Regions from separate parts of the Homo sapiens genome. Here all the other regions are linked to region 2. The links are contacts of gene promoters, found by promoter capture Hi-C in blood cells and fetal thymus (Javierre and others, 2016). All regions are on one chromosome and are shown on one strand. The core of a region is centred on a gene start or on the middle of the fragment in contact, and the rest is flanking DNA. Distances in the headings are between cores, read along the strand shown. Region 1 holds the start of ZNF44 (zinc finger protein 44). Region 2 holds the start of ZNF878 (zinc finger protein 878). Region 3 has its middle 3.7 kb from the start of ZNF440.

The links. The method cuts DNA at HindIII sites, captures the fragments that hold promoters and counts their contacts. A CHiCAGO score of 5 or more calls a contact.
Region 1: the fragment with the promoter of ZNF44 here is called in contact with the fragment with the promoter of ZNF878 in region 2 in 1 of 17 cell types (neutrophils); the score reaches 5.2 in neutrophils.
Region 3: a fragment that was not itself captured here is called in contact with the fragment with the promoter of ZNF878 in region 2 in 1 of 17 cell types (fetal thymus); the score reaches 5.7 in fetal thymus.

What each region holds. Positions count from the first base shown.
Region 1 is chr19:12,292,825-12,296,493 of GRCh38, reverse strand. ZNF44 (zinc finger protein 44) reads left to right here and starts at 1,611. Exons shown (of 4, transcript NM_016264.4): 1 at 1,611-1,802. The coding sequence starts at 1,800. RefSeq lists an enhancer at 1,227-1,276 and a silencer at 1,827-2,056. The HindIII fragment of the contact is 16,141 bases long and covers 1-3,669 here.
Region 2 is chr19:12,051,526-12,055,142 of GRCh38, reverse strand. It overlaps ZNF878 (zinc finger protein 878), which reads left to right and starts at 2,182. Exons shown (of 4, transcript NM_001080404.3): 1 at 2,182-2,344. The coding sequence starts at 2,342. RefSeq lists an enhancer at 1,843-2,348 and a silencer at 2,537-2,586. The HindIII fragment of the contact is 8,690 bases long and covers 1-3,117 here.
Region 3 is chr19:11,808,878-11,812,363 of GRCh38, reverse strand. No RefSeq gene overlaps it. Among named protein-coding and RNA genes, the nearest start is that of ZNF440, 3.7 kb to the left of the region's middle. RefSeq lists a silencer at 1-100. The HindIII fragment of the contact is 8,771 bases long and covers 1-3,486 here.

The DNA of each region.
Region 1 (3,669 bases), core at 362-2,861, 240 kb before region 2:
GTTTTTTTTTGAGACGGAGTTTCGCTCTTGTTGCCCAGGCTGGAGTGCAAAGGCACGATCTCGGCTTGGCGCGATCTCAGCTCACCGCAACCTCCACCTCCCGGGTTCAAGTGATTCTCCCGCCTTAGCCTCCCAGGTAGCTGGGATTACAGACATGTGCCACCACGCCCAGCTAATTTTGTATTTTTAGTAGAGACGAGCTTTCTCCATGTTGGTCAGGCTGGTCTCAAACTCCCGACCTCAGGTGATCCGCCCGCCTGGGCCTCCCAAAGTTCTGGGATTACAGGTGTGAGCCACCGGGCCCGGCCTCTTTTTTTCTTTTTTAAATATGTAGCAGTACAAGCCGCAGACAAGAACCCCTCAGACACCGAGTTGTGGAAGGAAAGGGCTTTATTCAGCTGGGCTGGGAGCATCGGCGGACTCACGTCTCCAAAAACCGAGCTCCCCGAGTGAGCAATTCTTGTCCCTTTTAAGGGCTTACAACTAGGAGTCCGCGTGAGAGGGTCGTGATTGATGGAGCAAACAGTGGGTACGTGACTGGGGGCTGCATGCACCGGTAACCAGAACTGAACAGAACAGGACAGGGATTTTCACAGTGCTTTTCCATACAATGTCTGGAATCATAGATAACACAGTTAGGTCAGAGGTTGATTTTTAACTACCCAGCCCAGGGCACAAGCCGGGTTATCTGCCTGTGGATTTCATTTCTGCCTTTTAGTTTTTACTTCTTCTTTGGAGGCAGAAATTGGGCATAAGACAATATGAGGGGTGGTCTCCTCCCTTATAGTATAGAGACGGAGTTTCACTCTATGTCCAGGCTGGTCTTGAACTACTGGCCTCAAGCGATCCTCCCACCTAGGCCTCCCAAAGTATTGGGATTACAGCGGTGAGCCACCACGCACTGCCAAGAGGACAGATTCCATCCCCAGTGATTTCATCCCCACCCCAACCAGTCAGTAGCAAGCCTAGCTACCTCCACCCTTTCTCCCAAACTGCCCTTGAAAAACCCCTACCAGAGGACCTTGGATGAGAATAATTTGAGTAGTAACTCCGTCTCTCACGTATCGTAGCTGGCCTAGTGTTTATTAAACTTTTTTTTTAACTGCAATACCGTGGTCTTTATTTGCGTAGCGCGCAGAAAGAACCCATCCAGCGCTTATAGTGGAAGAAAGGCTTGACCTTGCAGGCGACAGCCTCATCCCAAATTCCTGGTCCCTGGAGGACATCAGCACCACCCCCCCACCCACCCACCCCCTGTCCCCCGCTGCTACAGTGTGGCCTGTGTGGCCTCGGCTGCCCTCCTGCTCTGAGGCCAAGGGATGGCTCCACTGGACAGTGAGTCTGGGATTCCTTGCACACAATTGTTCAGGAGGAAGAAGCAAAAAGGGCCCACTGCGTACAGGTAGGAAATTCCGCTTTAAGGCAAACGTTTCCCGGGACGGGTCGGGTCACAACGCAGGGAGGAAGCCCGCCCTGCCAGGGGCCGGGTCTGGAACCTGTTCATCCGGCTGCACTCAGCACTGTGAGATCGCTTCTTCTGTCACTCAGTGCCCAGGAGGCGGGACCTGGAGGGCTACCCAATCAAAGTCGTGGGCGGGTTCCTGAGAATTGTCAATCAGGCGCGAGGCAGAGAGGAGGGTGTGACGTTCCAGGAGCTAGTGGCCTCTTCACCCTGGTGACCTCTGTTCCGTATTCTGTCACTGAGAGACGCCCTGGGACATCTGTGGTGGCTTTTGTCGCGCTGGGACCTACCCTGACTACGGGAGTTGGGAGGACCCGGGACACCGCACAGCCGGGAAATGGTGAGTGTGCGGGGCCCGGCGTCCTGAGGCAGGGCGAAGGGCTGGTCGGAACCAGTCGGAACCGGCTGTGGCGGGACCCGGGCCTCGCCGCAGCGTCTTTGGGGTCTGGGACCTGAGCGCCCCCTGCGCACCTCGGTCCTCGGTCCGTTTGGCCGCAGGGTGGGGCTGGGCCGGCAGCCGGGACCCCGGGCGTCCTGTCCCGTCCCTGAGCTGCGACTGCGGCCCCGGCCCCGGCGCCCCTCTCTGGGCAGCTCCGCGCCCTCAGCCCCGCTTCTCCCCAGATTGTGCGGCGGAACCAGTACAGGTTCGCAGCCCAAGTCACTGCACCCGGACGCCGAGGGCTGCAGCAGAAACGGTTTAATAGGAGAGGACACCCTAGATCCGCCTCCGTGAGAGGTTTGAGGATGGGGTGTTTAGGGGTCTGGACGGGGGTGGTTGGGATGTGGGGTCGCTGGTTGGTGGAGAAGTGAGGGGTGAATCTTGGGACTGGAGGTGAAGAAACCGCATTCTGCTGCTGAGTGGGCTTCCTTGTGGGGTCTTCAGCCTGCTTGGCGCCAGCCTTTCCGCTGGAATTCAAGATCTGAGAAAGAACTTAGACGACTCTTGAGCAACTCTCAGAGATCTTATCCCCAGGCCAATGGGGAAGCCGGCGGTCAGCGTCTGCTGTGACCTGACTCTCAGGGAGGCGGCTTCCTGTGAAGCAGCGGGGCTGAGGGCACCTGGTTAATATCTAACTGCAATCTCGCCTCCAGCCTGGCTCGCAGTTCCTGTGAGCCCGGTGAGGAGGCTGCACGGTGACGGTGGGAGGGTCACTAGGCACAAACCAGACTCGTGTGTGGGGTTTGTGTGTGGGAGGAGCTGTGGTCTCTGTGCTCTTCAGTCCTTTCTTTCCAAGGGCGACCATTTCTCCTCCGAGGCTTTCAAAGATATTGGCATCAGGGTCTTTGAGACCTGTCCCTTCATCCTAACTCCTCTTGGGGCTAACAGTAAATCTTTTGGTTTCCAGAGCCTTCCATATGCTAACTTCACTCCTCAATTCCCAGTAACGTTATGAACCCTTTGTCAGCAAGACGATATTTCAAATAGACACAGAATTTTGTCGTTTGTTTTCAGATAGCAATGTATGGCTCTTTTTAAACAGATTTATTTTGTTTTCCTTAACATTTCACATGTGAGGAAGAAGAGAATAACCACCTGACACTGCTGTAAAAAAAACCAAACCTTTGTGCCTCTTTTATCTCCCCTAGGCACAGATGCCTTCTCAGTATGTCCTTTACAGGGTGATGTGACCTCAGCCCACCCTGTATCTTTTCCAGGCCCTGTGTTATGGAACTTTCTGGGGCTACCCTAAGATGCTGGAAGCTGCCAATCTCATGGAGGGCCTAGTGGATATCGGCCCTTGGGTCACTCTTCCCAGAGGACAGCCTGAGGTGTTGGAGTGGGGCCTCCCAAAGGATCAGGTGGATGCACTGGGGTGGGAGGAATCTTCTGGTATATCATTCCTGTAAAAAGCTAACCCCTGGGCTGGGCGCGGTGGCTCACGCCTGTAATCCCAGCACTTTGGGAAGCCGAGGCGGGCGGATCACCTGAGGTCAGGGGTTCAAGACCACCCTGGCCAACATGGTGAAACCCCATCTCTACTGAAAATACAAAAATTAGCCGGGCATGGTGGCAGGTGCCTGTAATCCCAGCTACATGGGAGGCTGAGGCAGGAGAATCACTTGAACCTGGGAGGTGGAGGTTGCAGTGAGCCGAAATCACAATCATGCCATTGCACTCCAGCCTGGGCGACAAGAGGGAAACTCTGTCTCAAAAAAAAAAAAAAAAAAAAAAAAACCTAACCTCTGGGACATTGACATTTTTTTCC
Region 2 (3,617 bases), core at 933-3,432:
GTGTGGAGAGGAGGGGGAGTTTCCACACTGTGAGGAGAAGATGGGTGTATGTGAGGAAACCTTGGCCATGCCTCATCCCGATTCTTGCCCCACTGCAGGAGATCTGTCTCTCCCTCCTGGAGCAGTCATACATGGCCTTGTTCCCCTCCTGCCCTGAGACAAGGGGATGGCTTTGTGGGGGTGATAGACTCTTCGTGTCCTAAAGGTTTGCTGAAAACTAATTGATCTGAGGCAGATTGATTAATAGAAAAGAAGGCATGCAAATGTATTTAACATGTATACATGGGAACCTTCAGAATGAAGACACACCCAGCTATAAGACAGAGAAGATTATATAGCGACCTGAGGTCAGTAAATTAGGTTTAGTAGCAAGACAGCTTAGTAGACTGAGAAAGGAAGAGGCTTGGCTAGAGGTGGACTGTTACGTAGATGATGTCTCCCCCAGAGAATAGACTTTTTTCCTTTTTATGAGACAAGGTCTCACTCTGTCACCTAGGCTCGAGTGTAATGGTGCAATCTCTGCTCACTACAACCTCCGTCTTCTGGGTTCAAGCAATTGTCCTGCTTCAGCCCCCCGAATAGCTGGGATCACAGGTGTGTGCCACCAAACCCAGCTCATTTTTATATTTTTGGTAGAGATGGGATTTCGTCAAGTTGGCCAGGCTGGTCTCAAACTCCTGACCTCAAGTGATCCACCCACCTCGGCCTCCCAAAGTGCTGGGATTACAGGCATGAGCCACCATGCCTGGCCCTAATCTATTTACTTATCTTTTTGGTAGAGACCTGGTCTCACTGCGCCCGGCCACTGGTTTTTTGTTTTGTTTTGTTTTGTTTTTTTGAGACACAGTCTTGCTCTGTGGCCCAGGCTGGAGTACAGTGGTGCGATCTCTGCTCACTACAAGCTCCACCTCCCGTGTTCTCGCCATTCTCCTGCCTCAGCCTCCCGAGTAGCTGGGACTACAGGCGCCCACCACCACGCCCGGCTAATTTTTTTTTTGTATTTTTAGTAGAGACGGGGTTTCACCGTATTAGCCAGGATGGTCTCGATCTCCTGACCTCGTGATCCGCCCACCTCGGTCTCCCAAAGTGCTGGGATTACAGGCGTGAGCCACTGCGCCCGGCCAGCGCCCGGCCATTTAAAAAAATTTTAAATAATAAAGACAGGGATCGGCGGGCGAGGTGGCTCACGCCTGTAATCCCAGCACTTTAGGAGGCCGAGGCGGGCGGATCACCTGAGGTCGTGAGTTCGAGACCAGCCTGACCAACATGGAGAAACCCCGTCTCTACTAAAAATACAAAATTAGCGGGGCGTGGTGGCGCATGTCTGTAATCCCAGCTATTTGGGAGGCTGGGGCAGGAGAATCGCTTGAACCTGGGAGGCGGAGGTTGCAGTGAGCCAAGATCTCGTGCCACTGTGCTCCAGCCTGGGCGACAGATCGAGACTGTCTAAAAAAAAAAAAAAAAAAGAAAGAAAGACAGGGATCTCGCTGTGTTGATGATGTTGGCCTCAAACTCCTTGCTTCAAGGGATCCTTCCGCCTCAGTTTGCCAATGTGGTGGGATTATAGACATGAGTCACCATGTGCTACCTCTCTTCAGATTTTAAAGGTGTCAAACTCTCAATAGCTTTTAGATCAGGGAAAGGAAAAGAACGGGGGAGCTGGCAGTGCTTCATTAACGGAGATTCTCTACAAATGTAAATTTCCCCCTCAAAAGACAGTTTTGCAAGGCCACCTTTTGTTTGCTGGCCAAGCAGCAGCCATTTCAAAACTGTCAAAGAAATATATTTTGGCAGGGCAATATCTTGGGGCAAAATATTTTAATGTCTTTCACATTTTGTGGACACTGAATCTGGAATTCCCTGCACACTTGTGTCCCGTGTAGGATGAAGGGGCAGGGACGGCCCACGGAGTGAGGAAGACAACAGTGTCCCTTCTAGCAGTTCGGAGCAAGTTTGGCCGAAGGCAAATATTCGAAGTAAAGGTGGGAGGGAGGGAGGGAGCTGACCTTGGAAAGTGTGGCCAGAACCAGTCGCTTCGGCTCTGCAGCGCCCAGTTACCCGGGGCTTCTGCTGTCACTCAGGGAAGGGGGCGGAGTCTAGACCCCTATCCAATCAGGGGCGCTAGGGCGGGGCCCTGCCACTGTCCTCCAGGGAAGGGGAGGTTGCATTCCCGCTCTCTTCACTCCTAGGGCTGCTCGCGCTAGTTAAGGTCTGGGGCTTTCTTGCTCCGAGAGGGACCAGTTACTTCCGCCGTAGCTGCTGTTGCTCTGTCGACTGCGCTGTGACCTGCACTGTTCACGGGACCTTTAGAGAGGACGCCAGAATACCTGGAAGCCAGGAAATGGTGAGCATGCGGTGCTGGGGAGTCCCAAGGCGAAAGGAGGGACTGGGTGGAACCGAGAGGAACCCGCTGTGGCGGGGCCCGGGCCCCCCTGCAGCGACTCTGGGCTCCAGACACAGTCCCCCTAGCGCAGCTCGGCCCTCGGTCCCCTCGGCCGCTGGGTGGAGCTGGGCCGGCAGCCGGGACCCCGGGCGTCCTGTCCGGTCCCTGCGCGGCGACTGCGGCCCCGGCCCCGGCTCCCTCTCTGAGCAGCTCCGCGCCCGCAGCCCCGCGTCTCCCCAGATTGTGCGGTGACCATGGAAGGGTCATGGGGGATCCTGCCTCGGGTGTGGGGTTCGTGTGGGAGGAGCTGTGGGCTGTGGGGTCCCCAGTTCCTTTTTTTTTCCAGTTAAAAATTAAACTGAGGCACTGTTAAAAAATGAGAGTTTATTTTAGCAAACAGCGATTAATGAATGAGAAACTCCCAGTCCTGGCTTGTGGTTTGGTAACGGAAAAACCCAAATCGTGTAGAATAAGTTTATTCTGAGCCGAATAGGAGAGACCTCGGCTGAGGGAAACACAACCCCGCGAAGTCTGGAGTAAGCAATCCCGAGGCAGCTCCTGACAGTTTGGTTTTATTCATTTCAGGGAGACAGGAATTGCAGGAAAATGATGAATCAGTGCCGGGAAGGTGTAAGTTCCTTTGGCCGAAAGGCGGGACACATGGAAGCGGGGTTAGAAGGCACAGGTGGTGGAGGGATTCTGTAGGTGGCAGTTGGTTGAGAGTGTGTAAAGCTTTGTCTAAAATTTGGAGGCTGTAGGAAGGAGGGCTGTTATCTGCCACGTTATTCCATCCCAGTCCCCGCCCCCTTCCCCAAAAGACCTGTTTTTATTTTACCAGATTTTTATATTTTTGAGACGGAGTCTCGCTCCGTCGCCCCAGGCTGAAGTGCTGTGGCGCCATCTCGGCTCACTGCAACCTCCGCCTCCCGGGTTCAAGCGATTCTCTTGCCTCAGCCTCCCGAGTAGCTGGGACTACAGGCGCCAGCCACCACGCCCGGCTAATTTTTGTATTTTTAGTAGAAACGGGTTTCACCATATTGGCCAGGCTGGTCTTGAACTCCTCCTGACTTTGTGATCCGCCCACTTCGGCCTCCCAAGGTACTGGGATTACAGGCGTGAGCCACTGCGCCCGGCCAATTTTTGTATTTTTAGTAGAGACGGGGTTTCATGATATTGGCCAGGCTGGTCTCGAACTCCTGACCTCGTGATCCACCCTCCTCGGCCTCCCAAAGTG
Region 3 (3,486 bases), core at 8-2,507, 240 kb after region 2:
TCCAGTCCCCCAGACAGGATGTGTGGATGTTAAAGTCGCCCTCACCACAAGAGGGAGCTTCATTGACTTCCCCTATCTGGAAAATGGCTCAAAGGTGTTTTCTAAAAGACTTTTTAATGTAAGGCATATCAGTTATTAGAAATAAAGGTAGGACAGGTGTGGTGGCTCACACCAGTAATACCAGCATTTTGGAAGGCCAAGGTAGGAGGATCGCTTGAGGCCAGGAGTTTGAGACCAGCCTGGGCAACATAGTGGGACCCTGTCTCTACCCGAAAAAAGAAAAAAAGTTAAGGTAACATCACTGAATTTGGTTTCATTTACATGATTTTTCTTTTCTTTTCTTCTTTCTTTCTTTCTTTCTTTCTTTCTTTCTTTCTTTCTTTCTTTCTTTCTTTCTTTCTTTCTTTCTTTCTCTCTCTCCCTCTCTCTCTCTCTCTTTCTTTCTTTCTTTCTTTCTTTCTTTCTTTTTTTTTTTTTACAAGGTCTCCCTCTGTCACCCAGGCTGGAGTACAGTGGTGCAAACAGAGCTCACTGCAGCCTTGATCTTCCGGACTCAAGCAATTCTCCCACCTCAGCCTCCCAAGTAGAGCCTGGGACCACAGGTGTGCGCCACCAAGCCCAGCGAATTTTTGTATTTTTTGTACAGATGGGGTTTCACTGTGTTGCCCAGACTGCTCTCCAACTCCTGGCCTCAAGTGACCCTCCCACTTTAGCTTCCTAAAGTGCTGGGATTACAGGTTCTGAGGCACCATGCCTGGCCAATTTAATTTTTCATAGATTGATTTTTAAAAAGTAATGAACCTGGCTGGGCATAGTGGTCATGCCTGTAATCCCAGCACTTTGGGAGGCTGAGGTGAGTGGATCACCTGAGGTTGGGAGTTCGAGACCAGCCTAGCCAACATGGTGAAACCCCATCTCTACTAAAAATACAAAAATTAGCTGAGTGTGGTGGTGCATGCCTGTAATCCCAGCTACTAAGGAGGCTGAAGCAGGAGAATCGCTTGAACCTGGAAGGTGGAGGTTGCAATGAGCCGAGATCACACCATTGCACTCCAGCCTGGGCAGCGACAAAGAGAGACTCTGTCTCAAAAAAAGAAAAAGAAAAAGAAAAAGAATAAGCAATAAACCCTGTGAACTTTGATTAGATTTCCCAGATCCTAAAAAGTGCAGTGTAACAAAAAACTGAATGGAAAGAAGTAGGACTAACTGAGGTGAGAGGAAGAACCCTCTGTGGAGGTGACATTTGAGGTGACCTGATATAATGTATTAGTATAAAGAAAATGTTAAAATGAACATTATGGGAGGCCATTGTTTTGGACTGAGCTTCTGCACTAGGCACTTAGAAACCAGATCAGACCAAAATGGAGTCACTCATGCTAAATGCCACATAACGAAACTGAAACTTAAAGGAAGCGAATAGATCCCTATACAGATGAATTTTTCCATCGAAAACCAGTTCAGTATCCTGTTGGCCAGACTGGTCTCAATTTGAGAAACATCAAGACACCTCCATAGTCAAGGCTAATAATGTCCAGGCTGTGTCCTGTTCATCACCTAAACCTGCACCTCTAGTGTTCCTTACCTTCACTGGCCATCCCAACACAGTGCCCGCCTCCTGTAGAAAATCACATCTGGAGTGAAGTTGGTGGCGTTGTTTGTACTCTAACCAAACTCTCAGAGTGCATTTGGCCTTCAAGGGAGAAGGATGAGGTCGTGTTTGGTTTCAGACACACCTAACTCTGTATTACCATCTCTTTCTTGATCTAAGCGACACTCTATAAAAACTGATAGGCAATGGGCTGGGTGCAGTAGCTCACGCCTGTAATCCCAGCACTTTGGGAGGCCGAGGCAGGTGGATCACAAGGTCAGGAGTTCAAGACTAGCCTGGCCAACATGGTGAAACGCCGTCTCTACTAAAAATACAAAAATTAGCCGGGTGTGGTGGCGGGCACCTGTAATCCCAGCTACTTGGGAGGCTGAGGCAGGACAATAGCTTGAACCCAGGAGGCAGAGGTTGCAGTGAGCCAAGATCGTGCCACTGCACTCCAGCCTGGGTGACAAAGTGAGACTCCATCTCAAAAAAAAAAAAAATGACAGGCAATGACAGTACCTTTCACTTATGTTGATACCTAATCTGGGGATGGATGTGTCATCTGCACATAGAGTCAGGGGTTGGTCACTCATTGCTGCTCTGTCCTGTGGTACCAGGTTTTGACTCTAGGGGGTTTCAAACAGGCTTCTCTGAAGAAGAGTTTGGCTGGCACTTCAAAAAAGTGATTGGATTGGTCCATGCCACTGCATAATATATAAAACTAACTTTTCCATGTTGCCTATTACTCTACAGTGTGGCATAAAAGGGTTGCTGAACTCCTGTTCGAGATCAGCCTGGGCAACATGGTGAAACCTTGTCTCTAAAAAAAAAAATACAAAAATTAGCTGGGCATGGTCCCAGCTACTTGGGAGGCTAAGGTGGGAGGATCGCTTGAGCCCAGGAGGTGGAGATTGCAGTGAGCCGAGATCACGCCACTGCACTCCACATAGCCTGGGTGATAGAATGAGACCCTGTGTCAAAAAGAAAAAAGAGGGGTGCATCAAGAGCATATTATCTGAGCAAGAAAGGCTTGGTTGGAATAGTGATACTGACTTTCATCCTTCCTAGGCGTGCATTCAGACAGTTACATAAATATATTGACCACACTTGACTCAGTAAGGAATTTCTTTAAAAGTATTATACAGCTTCCTAAGGAGTAAGTGATTTTATATATTTTTAACTGGAGCATTTTGTGGAACAGTGTTCATACACTCTAAGAAATATCTTAGGTTTTGGAGAATAAGTAAAGCAAAAACAGGTCCACAAGTCTGGGAGCTGCCTCCCCTCACCACAAGGCCAAATCTTAAGCCATGTCAGACACCTGCAGTGTGAAGCAGTGCTCCTCAGTGACCATGATGGAGCAGGACAAAAACGAGGGCATTCTGTAACCACGTCCCTAGATGGGATAGAAGAAAACATATTTCAAATCATAAAAATAACCAAAAATTCCAGTTCCCCTCTTCTCATAATGGACTGACCAGCAATTGTCTTCAATTAGGTTTACCTCCAATCCATTCTTTCTCCTTCTAGGTGAGAACTACTATGATTAGCAGTGGTACAATTAAGTTCACATCCTGACAGCATCCAATATACAAAAATGACTCACCTCCTTGAATAGAGAACAATGCACCTAAAACAGAAATCCTGTAAGAAATTCTACAGAGAACCCTCTTATTGGTATGTCCTGCAGTCATTTATGGCTTGTGGTCATATTTATTACTACAATTTATTACATCCTCTTTGACAACAGTTTTTTTAGTACTGGTGGTTTTGGGCAACACAGCACCATAACAGCAAGATTTAACTTCGGGGATTATAAAAGAATGACAAATTATGGTCAAGATAAAAATTGTGGCTGGGAACAGTGGCTCACGCCTATAATCTCAGCACTTTGG